Regions from separate parts of the Homo sapiens genome. Here regions 1 and 3 are each linked to region 2. The links are contacts of gene promoters, found by promoter capture Hi-C in human tissues and cell types (Jung and others, 2019). All regions are on one chromosome and are shown on one strand. The core of a region is centred on a gene start or on the middle of the fragment in contact, and the rest is flanking DNA. Distances in the headings are between cores, read along the strand shown. Region 1 overlaps RASIP1 (Ras interacting protein 1). Region 2 holds the start of NTF4 (neurotrophin 4). Region 3 holds the start of SLC17A7 (solute carrier family 17 member 7).

The links. The method cuts DNA at HindIII sites, captures the fragments that hold promoters and counts their contacts. A contact is called where the count stands out against the background at its distance.
Region 1: a fragment that was not itself captured here is called in contact with the fragment with the promoter of NTF4 in region 2 in 2 of the 25 tissues and cell types used here (lymphoblastoid cells and mesenchymal stem cells).
Region 3: the fragment with the promoter of SLC17A7 here is called in contact with the fragment with the promoter of NTF4 in region 2 in 2 of the 25 tissues and cell types used here (dorsolateral prefrontal cortex and liver).

Annotation. Positions count from the first base shown.
Region 1 is chr19:48,720,919-48,724,072 of GRCh38, reverse strand. RASIP1 (Ras interacting protein 1) reads left to right here. Exons shown (of 12, transcript NM_017805.3): 11 at 2,072-2,219; 12 at 3,076-3,154. Among named protein-coding and RNA genes, the nearest start is that of MAMSTR, 2.8 kb to the right of the region's middle. RefSeq lists enhancers at 3,008-3,057, 2,762-3,154 and a cis regulatory region at 3,025-3,154. The HindIII fragment of the contact is 3,220 bases long and covers 295-3,154 here.
Region 2 is chr19:49,062,732-49,066,183 of GRCh38, reverse strand. It overlaps NTF4 (neurotrophin 4), which reads left to right and starts at 1,366. Exons shown (of 2, transcript NM_006179.5): 1 at 1,366-2,445. The HindIII fragment of the contact is 9,200 bases long and covers 1-2,574 here.
Region 3 is chr19:49,440,014-49,443,266 of GRCh38, reverse strand. SLC17A7 (solute carrier family 17 member 7) reads left to right here and starts at 1,740. Exons shown (of 12, transcript NM_020309.4): 1 at 1,740-1,949. The coding sequence starts at 1,888. The HindIII fragment of the contact is 22,755 bases long and covers 1-3,253 here.

The DNA of each region.
Region 1 (3,154 bases), core at 655-3,154, 340 kb after region 2:
ACTTTGGGAGGCCTAAGTAGGTGGATCACTTGAGGCCAGGAGTTTGAGACCAGCCTGGCCAACATGGCGAAACGCTGTCTCTACTAAAAATACAAAAATTAGCCAGGCTTGATGGCGCACGCCTGTAATCCCAGTTACTCTGGAGGCTGAGGGAGGAGAATCGCTGGAACCTGGGAGGCAGAAGCTGCAGTGAGCCAAGATTGCACCATTGCACTCCAGCCGGGGCGACAGAGCGAGACCCTGTCTCCAGAAAAAAAAAAAAAAAAAAAGTTTCCAGGGTCCCTCACTCAGACATGCTGAGTCAGAAAGTGTGGTATGAGACAAAGGAACATGATGATTAAAACATTCATTGAACATGAACTACCTGCCAGGCACCCTGTTTAGCACTTCTAGTTTAATGCTGACAAAGCCCCATCGAAGTAGGTGACTGACTGTTTTTTGGATGAGGAAACAGAATCAGGTAGGACAGGTCGCTTGATTTCACTTATTTTTCCTTTTTTTTTTTTTTTTTTTGAGACGGAGTCTCACTCTGTCACCCAGGCTGGAGTGCAATGGCATGATCTCGGCTCACTCCAACCTCCGCCTCCCGAGTTCAAGCGATTCTCCTGCCACAGCCTCCTGAGTAGCCGGGATAACAGGCACGCGCCACCACACCCGGCTAATTTTTGTAATTTTGGTAGAGACAGGGTTTCACCTTGTTGGGCAGACTGGTCTTGAACTCCTGACCTCAGGGGATGCGCCTGCCTCGGCCTCCCAAAGTGCTGGGATTACAGGCGTGAGCCACCATGGCCGGCCAATTTCAATTATTTATTTTCCTTTCTTCTTAAATATCTTACAAAAACTGTTCCCCATAGACATTTATTTATTTATATCAAATGTTTATAATGGGCTGGGCGTAGTGGCTAATGCCTGTAATGCCAGCATTTTGGGAGGCCGAGGTGGAAGGACCGCTTGAGCCCAGGAGTTTGACACCAGTTGGCAACATAGGGGAGACACCATCTCTACCAAAAATTTTAAAAATTAGCCAGGTGTGGAGGCACACGTCTGTGGTCCCAGCCACTCCAGAAGCAGAGGTGGAAGGACTGCTTGAGCCCAGGAGGTTGAGGCTGCAGTGAGCCACAGTCATGCCACTGTACTCCAGCATGGGTGACAAAGCAAGACCCTGTCTCAAAACAATAAGAAAGAAAGTTTACCATGCATTTAATAAGCCCCAGGCAGTGTTCCAAGTACTTTACAATTTTGCCATATTGCATCCTCATACCAACTCTATTAGATAGTTCCTGTTCTCCAAATTTATGGATGAGGAGACTAGGGGACGGTGACCTGCCGGAAGGTAATAAGTGACCCACCTGGGATTTTTGAACTCAGGCAGTCTAGGTGGAGTCTCTGATGTTAAGCACATTGATGGTTCTGACGTCAGCTACATCAGGTGTAGACATTGTCAAACAGATATAGAGTGGCCGCCATAGAATAATGAATCCCAACTGGGCGCAGTGGCTCATGCCTGTAATCCTAGAACTTTGAGAAGCTTGAGACCAGCCTGGGCAGCATAGTGAGATCCCATCTCTACAAAAACTTAACCAGGTGTGGTGGCGTGTGCCTGTAGTCCCAGCTACTCTGGAGGCTGGGGCCAAGGATCACTTGAGCCCAGGATCACTTGAGCCGGGAGTTTGAGGCTGCAGCAAGCCACGATCGAGCCACTGCACTCCAGCCTGGGCGACGGAGTGAGACCCTGTCTCTTTAAGGACAAAAAAAAAAAAAAAAAAAAAAAATCCCCAAGTACCATCGCCAGATTCAATAATATAAACGAATGGCCAATCTTATTTATTTCCACCCTACTCATTTCCTGTATCCTCAATTATCCTGAGGCACATCACATTTTTACAAATTGCTGGGAGCACACCCTTCCCCACCATCACTTTGGTGATAAACAGACTTCACAGTGCCCAGAAGACACTGCAGAGATGCCATTATCTTCCCACCACACCCACTCCCCTTATGGAAGCCCTTCCATTTCATTTCTTAACTGCCCCGTAATGACCATCAACCTCTCACCTGGTCTTCCCACCAGGCTTCATGGAGCAGCCTAAGAACCGACCACCCCACCTTGACCCCCGCCCAGCTGCACCATCTGCTCAGCCACTATCAGCTGGGCCCTGGCCGCGGGCCGCCAGCCGCGTGGGACCCTCCCCCTGCAGAGCGGGAGGCTGTGGACACAGGTGAGGAGCAATGGGATACAGCATTGGGGCTGTCAGCTTTCTTCTTCTTTTGAGACGGAGTCTCGCCCTGTCACTCAGGCTGGAGTGCAATGGCGCGATCTTGGCTCACTGCAACCTCTGCCTCCCGGGTTCAAGCGATTCTCCTGCCTCAGCCTCCCGAGTAGCTGGGATTACAGGCATGCGCCACCACGCCTGGCTAATTTTTTGTATCTTTAGTAGAGACGGGGGTTTCACCGTGTTGGCCAGGCTGGTCTCGAACTCCTGACCTCGTGATCCGCCCGCCTCGGCCTCCCAAAGTGCTGGGATTACAGGCGTGAACCACCTCACCTTTCTTCTTTTCTCAGGATCTTGGAGTCCAGATCCCCAGTCTCCTTCTAACCCCAGATTCTGGACCCCTGTCCCTCCCCACCAGGACATAAGTGCAGGACCCAGCCCCTTCCCCCGTCAAGATACAGGAGTTCAAGCCCCCAGCTCCCTTTATTCTCTGGGGTTCGCATCCCTAGTCCATTCCCTCCACCAGCCACCCACCCACCACCCCTAGGAGTCCAGGTCTCGGGACTTTCACTCCCCTGAACTTGACTCCTCCACCTTTAGGAATCTGTAAGGCAAGTTCCCAGCCCTTTCTCGGGGATTTGGGAAGCCGTTTCCCAGGCAACGGTGGCCTTCCATCGTCTGAACTACAACTTCCATCATGCCCAGGGGCTCCTAGAGTAGCGTGTGAACGGACCCCGCCCCAGGAGTTGCTGGGGTTTGTAGTTTTTTTCTTCCTTTGGGTGTGACGCAGCCTCGGCTCTTCCCGATGCAACTACCTCACTCCCACTTTCAGACTCTAACCGCGCCGCCTTCGGCCTCACAGGGGACATCTTCGAAAGCTTCTCCTCGCACCCGCCCCTCATCCTCCCCCTGGGGAGCTCGCGCCTGCGCCTCACTGGTCC
Region 2 (3,452 bases), core at 117-2,616:
ACACCCTAACCGGGGACACCCTCCTGCCACCTTGCCATGCTATATTTAGGCTGAGGGGGTGTGGGATGACCCTCGAGGCAGGTGTCAGTTTTCCTTCTGAAAATAGCGCAGGCGGAGGGGAGCGGAGTCTCAGGGTAGAGGTGTGGTGGGGTGAGGAGCCCCGCTGCCCTCATGACTGTCCTGAGACACTCCGGCTCCGGTCCCATCCCTGTCTTTCTCAGGGTCTCTCAGGGGCTCTGTCCCCTTCTCGGGGGGGTGGGGGGGTCTGCCCTCACGCTCTCTGGGCCTCTGTCTTCTCTCTGGGCTCCTGCCCTCCCCCACTCTCTCTAGTCTCGGTCCCCCTCTTTCTTTTGGTCTCTCCCCACTTTTCCATGTCTTCTCCCTATCTCTCCCTTCATGTCACCGCGCACCATTTCTCAAGGTAGCTGATTGTTCTTAAGACACATCTGTCTATCTCTGGTCCTATGATACCTTGCACGTCTCTTATCTGAGCTCAGGACAAGACCTTCTCCCCGGTCCCCAGCCAGGAAATTCCAGGGGAGAGGAGTATGCGGGAGCCCCCACATCCACTGTCTCCCCGGGCCTGGGGCCTTATCACTGCCCAAGCCCAGCTGGTTAATGTCTGGCGTGGAGCTCCTGGGAAGTGGGGAGGAGAGCAGAGGGTGGGAATCTGCCCCGGGATTGACACGCAATTGGCAAAAGACGGCAAAGGAATCTCAGGCCCAGACTCCTGGGGCTAATGGAGGAGGAGGCTGGGGGCTGGACTCCTGAGTCTGAGACGGGGCGGGGTTGGGAGGTGGTGGGGGGAACTGTGGGCTTAGTACTCAGGCGCCTGGGGCTGGGGGGAGAGGTGGCTGGGGTCGCAAGTCCTGGGTCTGAGGGAGGAGGGGCCGGATGCCTGGACTCCTGGGTCTGAAGGGAGGAGGGGCTGGGGGCCTGGACTGCTAGGTCCAAAGGAGGAGGCAGCTGGAAACTGGGACTCCTGTGACCAAGGCGGCCGCGTTGAACGAGCCAGGCCTGGCTTCCAAGGTCCCGGCACGCGAGTGCAAGGCAGGATCCCCCGGCCCCTCCTCTGCCGCCCGGCGCCGCCCCGCCCCCGCCCCCGACCCGGGCCCTGCGGAGCGTGAGCAGCTAGCACCCGGCGGGCCAGCGAGCGTCCCTGCAGCCAGCGAGCAGGAGGAGGAGCTGCTGCCGGGCGGAGGGCAGCCGCGGGAGCCGAAGAGGGCGCCCCAGGTAAGATCTCCACTCCTCCTCCCTCGGGATTCCGGCGTCCTGGTCGCCCTGCCCTCGGGTGGGGAGGGACGGGGGCGGGGCCGACCGGGGCGGGGCTTGGCGGAGGAAACTGAGGCAAGAGGGAAGTGTCCCAGATATGCAGCCGGTTTCCCCTGAGGGGTCTCGGAGTCCGGAACCCCCAACCCAAATCTGGAGGATGAGGAACCCGGAGTCTGCATTTCTTAGTATCCGAGAAGGAGGGGCCTGAATTCCAGAACTCCTGGGTCTGAGAGAGGAGGGCACTGGGGGCCTGGATTCCTGGGTCTGAGGGAGAAGGGCGCTGGGGGCATGGACTCCTGGGTCTGAAGGAGGAGGGCGCTGGGGACCTGGACTCCAGGGTCTGAGGGAGAAGGGTGCTGGGGGCCTGGGCCTGGACTCCTCCTGGGTCTGAGGGAGAAGGGTGCTGGGGGCCTGGACTTCTGGGTCTGAGAGAGGAGGGCGCTGGGGGCCTGGACTACTCCTGGGTCTGAGGGAGGAGGGCGCTGGGGATCTGAACTCCTGGGTCTGAAGGTGGAGGCCCTGGGGTCTGCACTACTCGGTCTGAGGGAGAAGGCGGTCCTGGTTGGGTCAGCCTGGGCTCCTTTCACTCTCCACCCTTCCCCTTTCCTGTACCGAGGAGCCAGGGCAGGCAGCCACTCCAGGTATGTGCAGAAGTCTTGGGCGGGCCCTGGCCTGTCCTGTGAGGAGGGAACATTCCAGGAAGCAGCTTGGGGAACCAGGGCTTCTTGAGTGTGGGCCCTCAGGGACCCGGGTGTCCAGGCCAGTTCCGCCCCATCTGGGAGATGAATGGGCCGAGGGGGATGTAATCTCTTCCAGCCTCCTTCATCCACTGCCTCTCCCTTCCCCTATTCTCCCTTCCCCTCCCTCCATCTGCTTCCCATCCCAGCCAGGAGCCATCACCTGGGTAGAAAAGGGGCCTCTGGAAAGGGGGCGGGGCCTTGACTCTTGGGTACCCTGCACTTGAAGAGGAACTCTGGGAAGGGGTTGTTCAGGGATTTGGCCCCTTCCCCACCTGCCTCTATAACCTGTCTATTCTTTTCTTCCCCTAGGTGGTTGCCCCCTCCCTCTCCTGAGATGTCAGGAAGGAGGGGGCCACCTGTGTCCTCCACAGGGGCCCCCCGAAGCCTGGGGACTCCCAGCCCCAGAGCTCCGAGGCGGAGGAGGTGCTGACAGGTCTGGTAACTACTGACTGTTTCCCAGTCTTCTCCACGCCACCCTTTCCCAGAACCACAGGCTTCCAGAATGTTGTAGGGAAACTGCAAAATCCGCGCCTCCACCAGCCTCTCCCAGCGCCAGGTCAATTTCACACACAGGGAAACTGAAGCCTGCCTCAGAGGGGCAGCGTTTTACCTCCTTAGTGGCAGTTTTGAGGTGAACTGGGGTCTCCCTAGGATTCCAGGTTGTGACCTTTCTCTAAATTGTGGAATGTGGCCAGGCGTGGTGGCTTGAGTCTGTAGTCCCAGCTACTCAGGAGGCTGAGGCAGGAGAATGCCATGAACTTGGGAGGCGGAGCTTGCAGTGAGCCAAGATCGTGCCACTGCACTCCAGCCTGGGCGACAGAGGGAGATTCCATCTCAAAAAAAAAAAAAAAAAAATTTTGTTTGGGACCAGGCATGGTGGCTTATGCTTGTAATCCCAGCACTTTGGGAGGCCAGGACACGACTATTGCTTGAGGTTGGGAGTTCAAGACCAGTCTGGCCAACATGGTGAAACCCCATCTCTATTAAAAATACAAAAATTAGCTGGGCACAGTGGCAGGTGCTTGTAATCCCACCTACTCAGAAGGCTGAGGCAGGAGAATCACTTGAACCCAGGAGGCAGACATTGCAGTGAGCCAGGATTGTGCCACTGTACTCCAGCCTGGCCAACAGAGTGAGATTCTGTCTCAAAAAAAAAAAATTGTTTGGAACATCCTCCAAGATGCAAGACTGTCGGTTCCTCAGAGTTGCACAGGAAGGACGGCAGAGTGCAGTTGCCCAGAGGTGAAGTCCCATCTCTGCCATTTGCTGGCTGTGTGACCGGGCACAAATCATTAACTTCTCTGAGCCTGTATTTCAACATCTGTTACTGTTAAGTAATAGTAGTTGAATTATTTTTATTTTTATTTTATTATTATTATTGTTTTTTAAGACGGAGTTTCGCTCTTGTTGCCCAGGCTGGAGTGCAATGGTTCAATCTCA
Region 3 (3,253 bases), core at 491-2,990, 380 kb before region 2:
GTAGTGGGGAAAGGATCACCCTCCTGGGGCCTGGATCTGGAGGTGGACTCAGCGCCGGGAGATGGGCTGGTCTGAGGACAGGAGCGGGGCGGGACCCTGTCTGCGGGCCCAGGACAGGGAAGGGCCGGGCTCTACCCAACGGGGCGGCGCTGGAATTCCGGCGTGGAGACAGAGTTCGGTGGGCGGGGACAGATTCCGGGGGTGGGAGCAGGACTGGGAGGGCAGGGACAGATCCCAGAGGCGGAGGCGGTGGGCGGGGGACAGATCCCATGGGGCAGGGGCAAGACTGGGAGGGCGGGGACAGATCTCAGGGGCGGAGGCCAGAGCTCGGTGGGCGGGGTCAGATTCCGGGGGCGGAGGCAGGACTGGGAGGTCGAGGACAGATCCCAGTGGCGAGGGTCAGAAGTCGGAGGGCGGGGACAGATCCCATGGGGCCGGGGCAAGACTGGGAGGGTAGGGAGAGATCCAGGGGGCGGGGAGAACTGGGTGGGCGGGGACAGATCCCATGGGGCAGGGGTAGAACACAGAGGGCGGGGACAGATCCCAGGGACGGAGGCCAGAACTCGGTGGGTGGGGACAGATTCCAGGGGGCAGAGATAGATCCTGTGGGGAAGGGGTAGAACTCAGATGGCAGGAACAGATTCCAGGGGGCAAGGACAGAACTGAGAGGGCGGGAACAGAGCCAGGGACAGATCCTAGGAGAAGGGGACACAACTCCAACGGTGGGGAGAGAACTCAGAGGGCGGGGGCAGAACTCAGGTCAGCGACAGATCCTAGGGGAGGAGACAAATTCAGAGGGCGGGTGAGGATGCCAGGGGGTGCGGATCACAATTTAGGGGGCGGGACAGATCTCAGGGGGTGGAGACAGAACTCAAATAGAGGAATGGATCCCCCGGAGCTAGGGAAGAACTCAGAGCGCGGACAGATCCCAGAGGAGCAGAGAAATAACACAATGGGGAGACTATGGGGTCGCAGCTGGCACTGGCGGGGTGTGTGAAATATAACTGTGGGGGGCGGAAGCCAGAGGGAAGAAAATCGGGGTTAGGGAATGAAACTCAGGGAGAGAAGCAACAGGGAGGAGAGAGACGCCGGAGGGAGAATAGAGCTGGAGGAGTATGGGATTCAAAGGGGAAAGATGGAAACTAAGGAGGAGATGGAGCTCAAGGGTGAAGAACCCGGGTGGCGAAAGGGACTAGAGGGGGACGACAGGTGGATCGAAGTAGGCGTTGGACTTGAGGGGAAAGAATTTCCCTTGAATGAGAAAACAAAGAACTCCCTGGATGAGACTATTGGAACTGGGGACGAGGTGGGATGGGGATGGAATTGCGGGGTGGGGGCGGGGAGGAGTGAAGGAACTGGAGGATGAACGCAGAGGGAAAGTCAGAGAAGACAGGATTGTAAGGGACGCAATTAGGGGGAACAGAAGTCGGGGAGAGAAATGATGGGGATGAGAACTCAGGAGAGGAGAGAAAATCTGGGTAGGAGCCAGGGGTGATGGAACAGGGATAGGGGGAGTAGCCTGGGGAAGGAACAGAATTGGGGGGCGTGAACTCGGAGGCGTGAGTTCAGAACCCACAGGCGTGGTCTTGGAAGGCTCAGGAGGGGACAGGACGAGGATGAAAGGGCTGCGAGAGGGGGCGGGTCTGACAGACGAGGGGAGGGGCCTGGTGGGGCCGGGGCGGGGCCTCCCGCGCCCCGCCCCCGGCGCTGAGTCCTGTGACAGCCCCCGGGCCGCCTGCACTTGCAGCCTCCTTCCCCCCGAGCGGAGCTGCGGGGCCGGCCGGGCCGGGGCTGGACCCCGGGAACCCGGACGCGGCCGCCCGGGCCCGCGGGCGGGGGGATCGGCGGGGGGGACCCGCGGGGTGACCGGCGGCAGGAGCCGCCACCATGGAGTTCCGCCAGGAGGAGTTTCGGAAGCTAGCGGGTCGTGCTCTCGGGAAGCTGCACCGGTGAGCCTGGCGGGGGTCCCGGGAGAAGAGTGGGAGGATCTGAGGAGGATGCTAATTCCCACCTGGGCGCAGACTGACAGATGAACGGGCGATACCCCGGCATGGGGGTCCACCCATCTGTCCAGTTTTCTGCCGTGGGCTCCGACGGCGCTGTTCTCCCTGGTCGAGCCTTGTCCATTATCCTGTTCCTTTTTCTGCACCCCACCCCACCCGGCTCCACTCTCTCTGGTGCTGTAAATGCCTCTCTCCCGGGTCTCTGGCTCCTCCCCCACCACTTCTGGGTCTCTGTCCCCGTCTCTTTCTGGATGTCTCTGCCCCTTTTCTCTCTGGGTCTCCGTCTCCCTCTTTTTCCAGATCTCGGCTCCCTTCTCTCTGGGCCCCTCCTTCTCCCTAGATCTCTGCCTCCGCTTCTTTGCGTCTCTGTGCCCCTCTCTCTGGTTCTCTGGCCATTGCTCTCACTGGATCTCTATCAACTCCTGACTCAGAGTCTCTGTCCCCCTCTTTCTGGGTCTCTCCTCTTCCCTGGATCTCTGGTCCCCACTTCTCTGGGTCCCTGTCCCCGTCTCTGTGTTTTAATTCTCCCACCATGGGTCTCTCCGTCTCTCTGTGTCTTTTTCCGTTTCTGTCTGGCATGGAGTTTAATCTGCAGCTAAAGCGGATTGGGGCTCATAGCCCGTTGTCCTTGAGGGGGTGAGGCTGGGTGGAAGAAGTCACAGCACCCTGGGTCCCTGGGAGAGAAAGGAGTTAGAGGCCAAAAATTTCGGCTCCTGGGGTAGGACAGCCTTCCCAAAGGATACAGGCTGGGGCTGACAGGGACTCCCTCCCAACCAGGTTGATGACCCCAGTGAACCGAGTGTCCCTCAGGATAATCTGGACACCTCCCCACAGGCTCTCACCCCCAACCCCAGCTTTGGCTCTAAGTCAGATAAATTACTCAGCTGCGGAAAAGCCTAAAAATATATCTGGCCACAGTGCACGAAGGAGATGGCCTCATCAGCACCATGCCCCTGCCGCCGTGCCCTCAGGCCCTGTCCCCTTGGCCCACAGCCCTGACCCTGTGTTTCGCTGAGCTTCAGTCCACCTCGCTAGGCCATGGGGGTCCTTTGCTAAGTCTAACATCAGTCTTGCTTGCTGCAGATCACCTCTTAGCTCCAAAGTTACCCCACCCTCTAGTAACATGAGAGACAAGAATAAGGCTGGACAGAAGTGGGGGGAGGTGGGCAGGAGGATGGTGCAGTGACGGAGGTTGGTGGTGGAGGGGAAGCTGAGATAACCTCACCCCTTCTTTTTCCAATTTTCCAGCC